3 separate regions of the Homo sapiens genome follow, and all the other regions are linked to region 1. The links are contacts of gene promoters, found by promoter capture Hi-C in human tissues and cell types (Jung and others, 2019). All regions are on one chromosome and are shown on one strand. The core of a region is centred on a gene start or on the middle of the fragment in contact, and the rest is flanking DNA. Distances in the headings are between cores, read along the strand shown.

Region 1 (3,189 bases), core at 204-2,703:
GGAGACAGGTTGGTGACAGGGGCCCTGGCTGCCCATAGTTCCAATAAGGCCTAAGTAACTTTCTCTAAGGCTGGAAGCCTTAGGAAGAAGCCAGGTGAGAAACCTGGCATCTGGTCCCATTGAGGCCAAATTACAGCTCCACGGGGGCCGCATGGAAGTGAGAGCTCCCTTAAGACAGCAGATGTGAAGGAAGCAGCGAACACAGTGCTTGATGGCAGCTGAGCTCATGTAGCAGGAGATATTGACAGGTCTCTAAGACTACAGGAAATCGTTGAATTCAATGAGATCATGCATGGAGATTGCCTATACCGTGCCTGGTCATGGTAAGCATTCAGACATTAGCTACGATAGGGACCATTAATTCAGCAAACAAAGATTTATTGCCTCCCTATTATGGTCAATAATCCTACTGTTCTAGGTGTTGGGATACAGCAGTGAACAACAGACAAAATCCATGAGCTGTCAGAGCTTTCCTTCCAGCAGAGAAAGACAAGCAATCGCAAAATGAACAAGCAAAATATATAGTACATCAGCTGGTGCTACAGAGACTTAAAGCAGTGAAGGGGCGTAGGAAGTGTTTGGACCAGGTGGTGCTATTTTATTTTATTTTATTTTATTTTTATTTTTTAGAGACAAGGTCTCGCTACGTCGCCCACGCTGGAGTGCAGTGGTGAGATCCTATTAGATCCCTGCAGCTTCGAACTCCTGGGCGATCCTCCCACCTTAGTTGGTGCTATTTTAAATAAGGCTGTCAAGGAATACAAGTGCAAATCAAGACAAAGGAGGTGAGGGAATGTGCCATGCAAATACCTAAAGAAATCAGTCCAGATTGGGAAGGAACCCCTAGAAGCGGTGGGCAGTGCAGTGCGGGCGCTCTCCTCTGGCTGCGCCCTTTCCCTCTGTGAGGCAGGACGTCAGGTCAGAGCTGAGGGAGCATGAGGAGGAAAGAGGCGGGGGTGGGAAACAGTCTCGGGAGGGGGCGAGCAGTCAGGATTGCAGCGCTCGGAGGGCTTACTGCCTCTGAGGTCAGGGCTGATCGGCAGAGGATTTAGCATCTCTGGGGGCTGGGATGCCAGGGTCCAGCAACCTTGCTCTGGCCCACAGGCCGACCCTGGGCGTAAACACCTGCCTATGCACATCTGAGCCTAGCACCTAACGCCACTGTACATACAAGCACGATATTTTTGAACATTTGACGACTTAGTTAAGCCTCCCAGGTGGCTGCACCTGCGCAGTTCACTCAGGTCCGCAATCCCTCATCTGAAACGCCTGGTCTGGGCAAGTATGAGAATTCATACCATTCTAGATCGCAGGAGGGCGTGGAGCATTCGAAAGAGGGGCCTGAGCGGAGGTCTTGCTGTCCCAGGGAGACCCCGGCTGCCATTAGCAAGCGGTGAGCCGGCAGCCTGTGCGCGGAGGGAAGGGCAGCGCGCAGCGCCCAGTGGTGAAAGAGGCGCTAGCGCACGCGCAGTGAGCGTTTGAGAGGAGCAAACCCGTCGAGACGAAGCTGTAGCGCAAGCGCAGTGGGTATTGAGAGCGGCCGCACCAGCTGAGGGTTCGCGCAACGCTAAACGATGGCCGGGACTAAGGCCTGAGACTCAAGCTCAGGCGCAGTGAAGCGCAGAGCCGCTAGAGTGTCGCGGAGGGCGCCTGAGGCGCATGCGCGGACTCAGCGTTTTTAAGAAGGGCTGGGGGTGCTGGGGAGTTCGCCCCAGCGTGTTGGGGGGGAGTCGCCGCCGCGGGGGGGGGGTTTGGGGTCACCGCCGCGGGGTTTGTCGCCGCCGCTGGGAGCTCACCTGCGTCCGAGGCCGTAAGGACGGCTCCAGTTCATCCTCCATCCGCCTCTGCCGCAGCACTGAGGCTGAAAAGCCGCTCACTCCTTACTCGGCTAAGCCCCAAGCTCATCTCTGCAGGCCGGAAGGGAGCTCTGGTCCAAGGTCATCTCGGCCAAGCCCCTGCATTCGCCCTCGCAAGTGCCAGCAAGCGACTCTGGTCGCCGCGCTCCCAAGTCCTCCCCCGAAATTCCGGCTCTGGCCCCTCGTCCCCCTCCTTTGCTACAGTCTCTGGACTAAATGTCTGCGGGTCTCTGTCTCTCGCTGGTCTGACCTCAGCCGCAACCCTGCGCGATTCCCTGCGCCGGTCGCCACTGCCGGCCGCCAGAACCTCGGAGGCCACTGCCCCTGGGCGTTCTCCGGAGGGCCAAGCCCTTGGTTGTGCACATCTATGCACGCCCCACCTACACCCCCCCCCCCCCACACACACACACTTTGGTTCAGGTATCCCCGACCTTTCCCCAGAGGACGGGAAAATTAGGAAAGACCGAAAGATAGACCCACCAGTCTTCGGAGCGCTCTCATCTGTGCGTCCTGGGCAGAGCGAGAGACTTGGCGGAATGCGGGTAGGAGAACCGGTCTCGGGTTGCCGCCAGGGGATCCATTGCGTGAGAGGCAGGTCCGACTTATGCTGGGGGCACTTGGAGTTGAGGAACCACAGAGTCCACTGAACCGGATTAATCTTTTATCCCTCAGGGCTTCTCAGGCCCTGCATGGAGGAATCCAGGAGCTGGACAAAGACCAACTGAAACTAGACTTGCCAAAGATGCTATTTGTGGTCACAGAAACATAGAGCTGGACATGACCTTAAGAAGTCACCTGAGCAGACACTGTGATGGGCACTGTAGTAGCTCTATTGCTCAGACTTGGTTTTTGTTTGACTTTTGCTGCTCTGAACTTTAATTCCTAAAAACACTGCATTTTTAAGGAAAAACACAAAATATTAGCAGTTATAATAAATAGGTATTTTATTGCATGCTTTTCGTGCATCTATTAAGATGATCATATGGGTATTCTCCTTTAATCTGTTAATGAGATCAGTTACATCAATAAACTTTCTAATGGTAAACCATTCTTGAATTCTTGGGGTAGACGCAACTTGGTCATAATATTATTGTTATTAATACATTGTTAGTTTCAACTGCTGATATTTTATTTTGATAGGTTAATTTTTTTCTTTTTTTTTTTTAATTTATTTATTTTTTTTTTATTGATCATTCTTGGGTGTTTCTCGCAGAGGGGGATTTGGCAGGGTCATAGGACAATAGTGGAGGGAAGGTCAGCAGATAAACAAGTGAACAAAGGTCTCTGGTTTTCCTAGGCAGAGGACCCTGCGGCCTTGGCCTTCCGCAGTGTT
Region 2 (3,189 bases), core at 392-2,891, 190 kb after region 1:
ATGGTGGTGTTTGGTTTTTTGTCCTTGTGATAGTTTGCTGAGAATGATGGTTTCCAGCTTCATCCATGTCCCTACAAGGGACATGAACTCATCATTTTTTATGGCTGCATAGTATTCTATGGTGTATATGTGCCACATTTTCTTAATCCAGTCTATCATTGTTGGACATTTGGGTTGGTTCCAAGTCTTTGCTATTGTGAATAGTGCCGCAATAAACATACGTGTGCATGTGTCTTTATAGCAGCATGATTTATAATCCTTTGGGTATATACCCAGTAATGGAATGGCTGGGTCAAATGGTATTTCTAGTTCTAGATCCCTGAGGAATTGCCACACTGACTTCCACAATGGTTGAACTAGTTTACAGTCCCACCAACAGTGTAAAAGTGTTCCTATTTCTCCACATCCTCTCCAGCACCTGTTGTTTCCTGACTTTTTAATGATCGCCATTCTAACTGGTGTGAGATGGTATCTCATTGTGGTTTTGATTTGCATTTCTCTGATGGCCAGTGATGATGAGCATTTTTTCATGTGTCTTTTGGCTGCATAAATGTCTTCTTCTGAGAAGTGTCTGTTCATATCCTTTGCCCACTTTTTGATGGGATTGTTTGTTTTTTTCTTGTAAATTTGTTTGAGTTCATTGTAGATTCTGGATATTAGCCCTTTGTCAGATGAGTCGGTTGCAAAAATTTTCTCCCATTCTGTAGGTTGCCCGTTCACTGTGATGGTAGTTTCTTTCGCTGTGCAGAAGCTCTTTAGTTTAATTAGATCCCATATGTCAATTTTGGCTTTTGTTGCCATTGGTTTTGGTGTTTTAGACATGAAGTCCTTGCCCATGCCTATGTCCTGAGTGGTATTGCCTAGGTTTTCTTCTAGGGTTTTTATGGTTTAGGTCTAATATGTAAGTCTTTAATCCATCTTGAATTAATTTTTATATAAGGTGTAAGGAAGGGATCCAGTTTCAGCTTTCTACATATGGCTAGCCAGTTGTTCCAGCACCATTTATTAAATAGGGAATCCTTTCCCCATTGCTTGTTTTTGTCAGGTTTGTCAAAGATCAGATAGTTGTAGGTATGCGGCATTATTTCTGAGGGCTCTGGTCTGTTCCATTGGTCTATATCTCTGTTTTGGTACCAGTACCATGCTGTTTTGATTACTGTAGCCTTGTAGTATAGTTTGAAGTCAGGTAGCGTGATGCCTCTAGCTTTGTTCTTTTTGGTTAGGATTGACTTGGCAATGTGGGTTCTTTTTTGGTTCCATATGAACTTTAAAGTAGTTTTTTCCAATTCTGTGAAGAAAGTCATTGGTGGCTTGATGGGGATGGCATTGAATCTATAAATTACCTTGGGCAGTATGGCCATTTTCACGATATTGATTCTTCCTATCCATGAGCATGGAATGTTCCTCCATTTGTTTGTATCCTCTTTTATTTCATTGAGCAGTGGTTTGTAGTTCTCCTTGAAGAGGTCCTTCACATCCTTTGTAAGTTGGATTCCTAGGTATTTTATTCTCTTTGAAGCAATTGTGAATGGGAGTTCACTCGTGATTTGGCTCTCTGTTTGTCTGTTATTGGTGTATAAGAATGCTTGTGATTTTTGCACATTGATTTTGTATCCTGAGACTTTGCTGAAGTTGCTTATCAGCTTAAGGAGATTTTGGGCTGAGACGATGGGGTTTTCTAGATAAACAATCATGTCATCTGCAAACAGGGACAATTTGACTTCCTCTTTTCCTAATTGAATGCCCTTTATTTCCTTCTCCTGCCTGATTGCCCTGGCGAGAACTTCCAACACTATGTTGAATAGGAGTGGTGAGAGAGGGCATCCCTGTCTTGTGCCAGTTTTCAAAGGGAATGCTTCCAGTTTTTGTCCATTCACTGTGATATTGGCTGTGGGTTTGTCATAGATTGCTCTTATTATTTTGAGATATGTCCCATCAATACCTAATTTATTGAGAGTTTTTAGCATGAAGTGTTGTTGAATTTTGTCAAAGGCCTTTTCTGCATCTGTTGAGATAATCATGTGGTTTTTGTCTTTGGTTCTGTTTATATGCTGGATTACGTTTATTGATTTTCGTACGTTGAACCAGCCTTGCATCCCAGGGATGAAGCCCACTTGATCATGCTGGATAAGCTTTTTGATGTGCTGCTGGATTCGGTTAGCCAGTATTTTATTGAGGATTTTTGCATCAATGTTCATCAAGGATATTGGTCTAAAATTCTCTTTTTTTGTTGTGTCTCTGCCAGGCTTTGGTATCAGGATGATGCTGGCCTCATAAAATGAGTTAGGGAGGATTCCTTCTTTTTCTGTTGATTGGAATAGTTTCAGAAGGAATGGTACAAGCTCCTCCTTGTACCTCTGGTAGAATTCGGCTGTGAATCCATCTGGTCCTGGACTTTTTTTGGTTGGTAAGCTATTAATTATTGCCTCAATTTCAAAGCTTGTTATTGGTCTATTCAGAGATTCAACTTCTTCTTAGTTTAGTCTTGGGAGGGTGTATGTGCCTAGGGATTTATCCATTTCTTCTAGATTTTCTAGTTTTTTTTTGCGTAGAGGCATTTATAGTATTCTCTGATGGTAGTTTGTATTTCTGTGGGATCGGTGGTGATATCCCCTGTATCATTTTTTATTGCGTCTATTTGATTCTTCCCTGTTTTCTTCTTTATTAGTCTTGCTAGTGGTCTATCAATTTTGTTGATCTTTTCAAAAAACCAGCTCCTGGATTCATTGATTTTTTTTTGAAGGGTTTTTTGTGTCTCTATTTCCTTCAGTTCTGCTCTGATCTTAGTTATTTCTTGCCTTCTGCTAGCTTTTGAATCTGTTTGCTCTTGCTTCTCTAGTTCTTTTAATTGTGATGTTAGGGTGTCAATTTTAGATCTTTCCTGCTTTCTCTTGTGGGCATTTAGTGCTATAAATTTCCCTCTACACACTGCTTTGAACGTGTCCCAGAGATTCTGGTATGTTGTGTCCTTGTTCTCGTTGGTTTCAAAGAACATCTTTATTTCTGCCTTCATTTTGTTATGTACCCAGTAGTCATTCAAGAGCAGGTTGTTCAGTTTCCATGTAGTTGAGTGGTTTTGAGTGAGTTTCTTAATCCTGAGTTCTAGTTCGATTCACTGTGGTCTGAGAGACAGTTTGTTATAACTTCTGTTCTTTTACATTTGCTGAGGAGTGCTTTACTTCCAACTAT
Region 3 (3,189 bases), core at 407-2,906, 130 kb after region 1:
ATACTTCAATAACATTTATTTTAAGTAATAAAACAACTGTCCCTGGCAGTATTTGTACAAAGGGAAGGGGTCTTTGAAGACACTCAGAATTCAGACATTATTTTTAGGTCTTGCAAAAAAAAAAACCCCGAAACCAAAAACCTTTAACCTCAAAAACCGCACAAAAGGTAGCTGAGGTGGGAGATCAGAAATGCCTGTTATTCTAATTGGATGTTGTGTTTGATAATTGTTGTCATGATATTGCTATTAGAATATTAAAGTAACAATTAAAATATCAAATGACATCTCTGTACACATAAAGATATAAACACTTGTATTTATTTACATATGGGCCGAGCACGGTGGCTCACACCTGTCATCCTAGCACTTTGAGAGGCAGAGACGGGAGGATCACTTGAGGCCAGGAGTTTGAGACAAGCCTGGTCAATGTAGCAACACCCCATTTCTATTAAAAAAATCTGACTGGGCACAGTGGCTCACACCTGTAATCCCAGAACTTTGGGAGGCCGAGGAGGGCGGATCATGAGGTCTGGAGATCGAGACCACCCAGGCTAACACAGTGAAACCCTGTCTCCACCAAAAATACAAAAAATTAGCCAGGTGTGATGGCGGGCGCCTGTAGTCCCAGCTACTCAGGAGTCTGAGGCAGGAGAATCGCTTCAACCCAGGAGGCAGAGGTTGCAGTGAGCCGAGATGGCACCATTGCACTTCAGCCTTGGTGACAGAGCGAGTCTCCATCTCAAAAATAAAATAAAATAAAATGAAGTAAAAAAAAATAAAAACTATACATTTCATTCATATATACCCAGAGTATGAAAATTGGCAGTTCTCTTTTCTTGCAATATATGAGTATATAATAAAACCCATGACTCCGTCAGTTCCTTCTTCAAACATAAATTTGAAAGTCTTTGAGGCCGGGCATGGTGGCTCATGCCTATAATCTCAACACTTTGGGAGGGTGAGCTGGGAGGATTGCTTGAGGCCAACAGTTCAAGGCCAGCCTAGGCAACATAGTGAGAGCCTGACTACAAAATGCTTTCTTTCTTTCTTTTTCTTTTCTTTTTTTTTTTTTTTTTTTTGAGACGAAGTTTCGCTCTTGTTGCACAGGCTGGACTGCAATGGTGTGATCTCAGCTCACCACAACCTCCACCTCTGGGGTTCAAGCGATTCTCCTGCCTCAGCCGCCCGAGTAGCTGGAATTACAGGCACCCGCCACCAGGCCCAGCTAATTTTTGTATTTTTAGTAGAGACAGGGTTTCACCATGTTGATCAGCCTGGTCTTGAACTCCTGACCTCAGGCGATCCATTTGCCTCAGCCTTCCAAAGTGCTGAAATTACAGGCACGAGCCACTGCGCCCAGCTTTTTCAAAATTTTTTGAGACAGAGTCTGGCTCTGTGGCCCAGGCTGGAGTGCAGTGGTGCGATCTCAGCTCACTGCAACCTCCACCTCCTGGGTTCAAGCAATTCTGCCTCAGTCTCCCAAGTAGCTGGGATTACAGGCACCTGCCACCATGCCTGGCTGATTTTTGTATTTTTAGTAGAGATGGAGTTTTGCCATGTTGGCCAGGCTGATCTCGAACTCCTGACCTCAAGTGATCCCCCAGCCTCGGCCTCCCAAAGTGCTGGGATTACAGATGTGAGCCACCACACTTGGCCAATTGTCACTCTTAGTTACTGTAAGAACTGGTTGTTGGAAGAGCTTGGCACCTCTGCTCTCTCGCTTCCTCCTTTGCCATGTGATCTGCACACAGCTCTCCTTTGCCTCTGCCATGAGTGGAAGCTTCCAATCCTGCAGCAGAAACAGATGCTGGGGCCATGCTTCTAGTACAGCCTGCAGAACCATGAGCCAAACAAGTCTCTTTTGGACAAAAAAGACAAATGACCCAGCCTCAGCCTCAGCTATTCCTTTATAAGCGGACAAGCTACTTTATTCGGATGTTGTGAGAAGTAGATGAGATAATGTGGGTAGAGACCCCAGATGAGGGTCTGGCACATAGTGTATCAGTCAGGACAGGCTAATTAAGCTGCAGTAACAACTCCAAAACCTCAGTCTTTTGACTCAATAAAGGTTTATTTCTCATTCATCCTACACATCCATCACTGGTTGGAAAGGGGGCTTTGATTTCCATAAGTTGCTCAGGGATCCTGACTGAGAGGTGCTCAATTTCGACACGTGCTTCTGTGATCACCAAGACAGGAAAAAGGGATGATGCAGAAAATCAGGCATTGGCTCTTAAAAATGTTGCTGCCTGCTGGACGTGGTGGCTCACTTCTGTAGTCTCAGCACTTTGAGAGGCCGAGGTGGGTGGATCACCTGAGGTCAGGAATTCAAGATCAGCTTGGCCAATGTGGTGAAACCCCATCTCTGCTAAAAATAAAAAAATTAGCTGGATGTGGTGGCACATGCCTGTAGTCCCAGCTACTCAGGAGACTGAGGCAGGAGAATTGCTTGAACCTGGGAGGCAGAGGTTGCAGTGAGCCAAGATCACGCTATTGCACTCCAGCCTGGGTGACAGAGTGAGATTCCGCCTCAAATTTTTTTTTTTTTTTTTTTTTTTTTTTTTTTTTTTGCTGTTTAAGGCTGGGTGTGGTGGCTCACATCTGTAATCCAGGCACATTGGGAGGCCAAGGCGGGCAGATCACTTGAGCTCAGGAGCTCGAGAGCAGCCTGGCCAACATGGCAAAAACCCGTATCTACAAAAAATACAAAAAATTACCCCAGCGCAGTGTCATTCGCCTGTAATCTTAGCTATTTGGGAGGCTGAGTTGGGAGGATTACTTGAGCCTGGGAGGCAGAGGTTGCAGTGAGCTGAGACCGTGCCACTGCACTCCAGCCTGGGTGACAGAGTGAGACACTCCCTGTCTCTCAAAAAAAGAAAAAATTGCTCTTTACATTTTATGGACCAAAAAAGTCACATGGTCACCCCTCACATGACAAAGTCAAAGACATGCAATTCCACTTCGTGTCTAAAAAGAGGGAGAAAGAAATATTTGCTGAACTTCCATGGTTAGTTACCATAATTTAAAAAGTGGGCAGATGGGAGCTTACTGAGGATGTGACATTTGAGCTGAGGCTTCAATGATAAAGAAGCAGAAATTGTAAGAGCTACGGGTGTGAAGTCTCTAAGGCAGGAATGGGCTTTTGAGGAACAGAAAGTGGCTTGAATGTTTGGAAAACAGTGAATGAGA

What was found. Contacts are between HindIII fragments. The study calls those that stand out against the background at their distance.
Region 2: a fragment that was not itself captured here is called in contact with the fragment with the promoter of SLC2A11 in region 1 in 1 of the 25 tissues and cell types used here (dorsolateral prefrontal cortex).
Region 3: a fragment that was not itself captured here is called in contact with the fragment with the promoter of SLC2A11 in region 1 in 1 of the 25 tissues and cell types used here (spleen).

Annotation. Positions count from the first base shown.
Region 1 is chr22:23,856,139-23,859,327 of GRCh38, reverse strand. SLC2A11 (solute carrier family 2 member 11) reads right to left here and starts at 1,453. Exons shown (of 12, transcript NM_001024939.4): 1 at 1,299-1,453. The coding sequence starts at 1,328. The HindIII fragment of the contact is 17,543 bases long and covers 1-3,189 here.
Region 2 is chr22:23,665,705-23,668,893 of GRCh38, reverse strand. It overlaps the pseudogene GUSBP11. Among named protein-coding and RNA genes, the nearest start is that of RGL4, 24 kb to the left of the region's middle. The HindIII fragment of the contact is 3,182 bases long and covers 51-3,189 here.
Region 3 is chr22:23,726,841-23,730,029 of GRCh38, reverse strand. LOC124905088 (a long non-coding RNA gene) reads left to right here. Exons shown (of 2, transcript XR_007068020.1): 2 at 1-300. Among named protein-coding and RNA genes, the nearest start is that of ZNF70, 23 kb to the left of the region's middle. The HindIII fragment of the contact is 7,610 bases long and covers 1-3,189 here.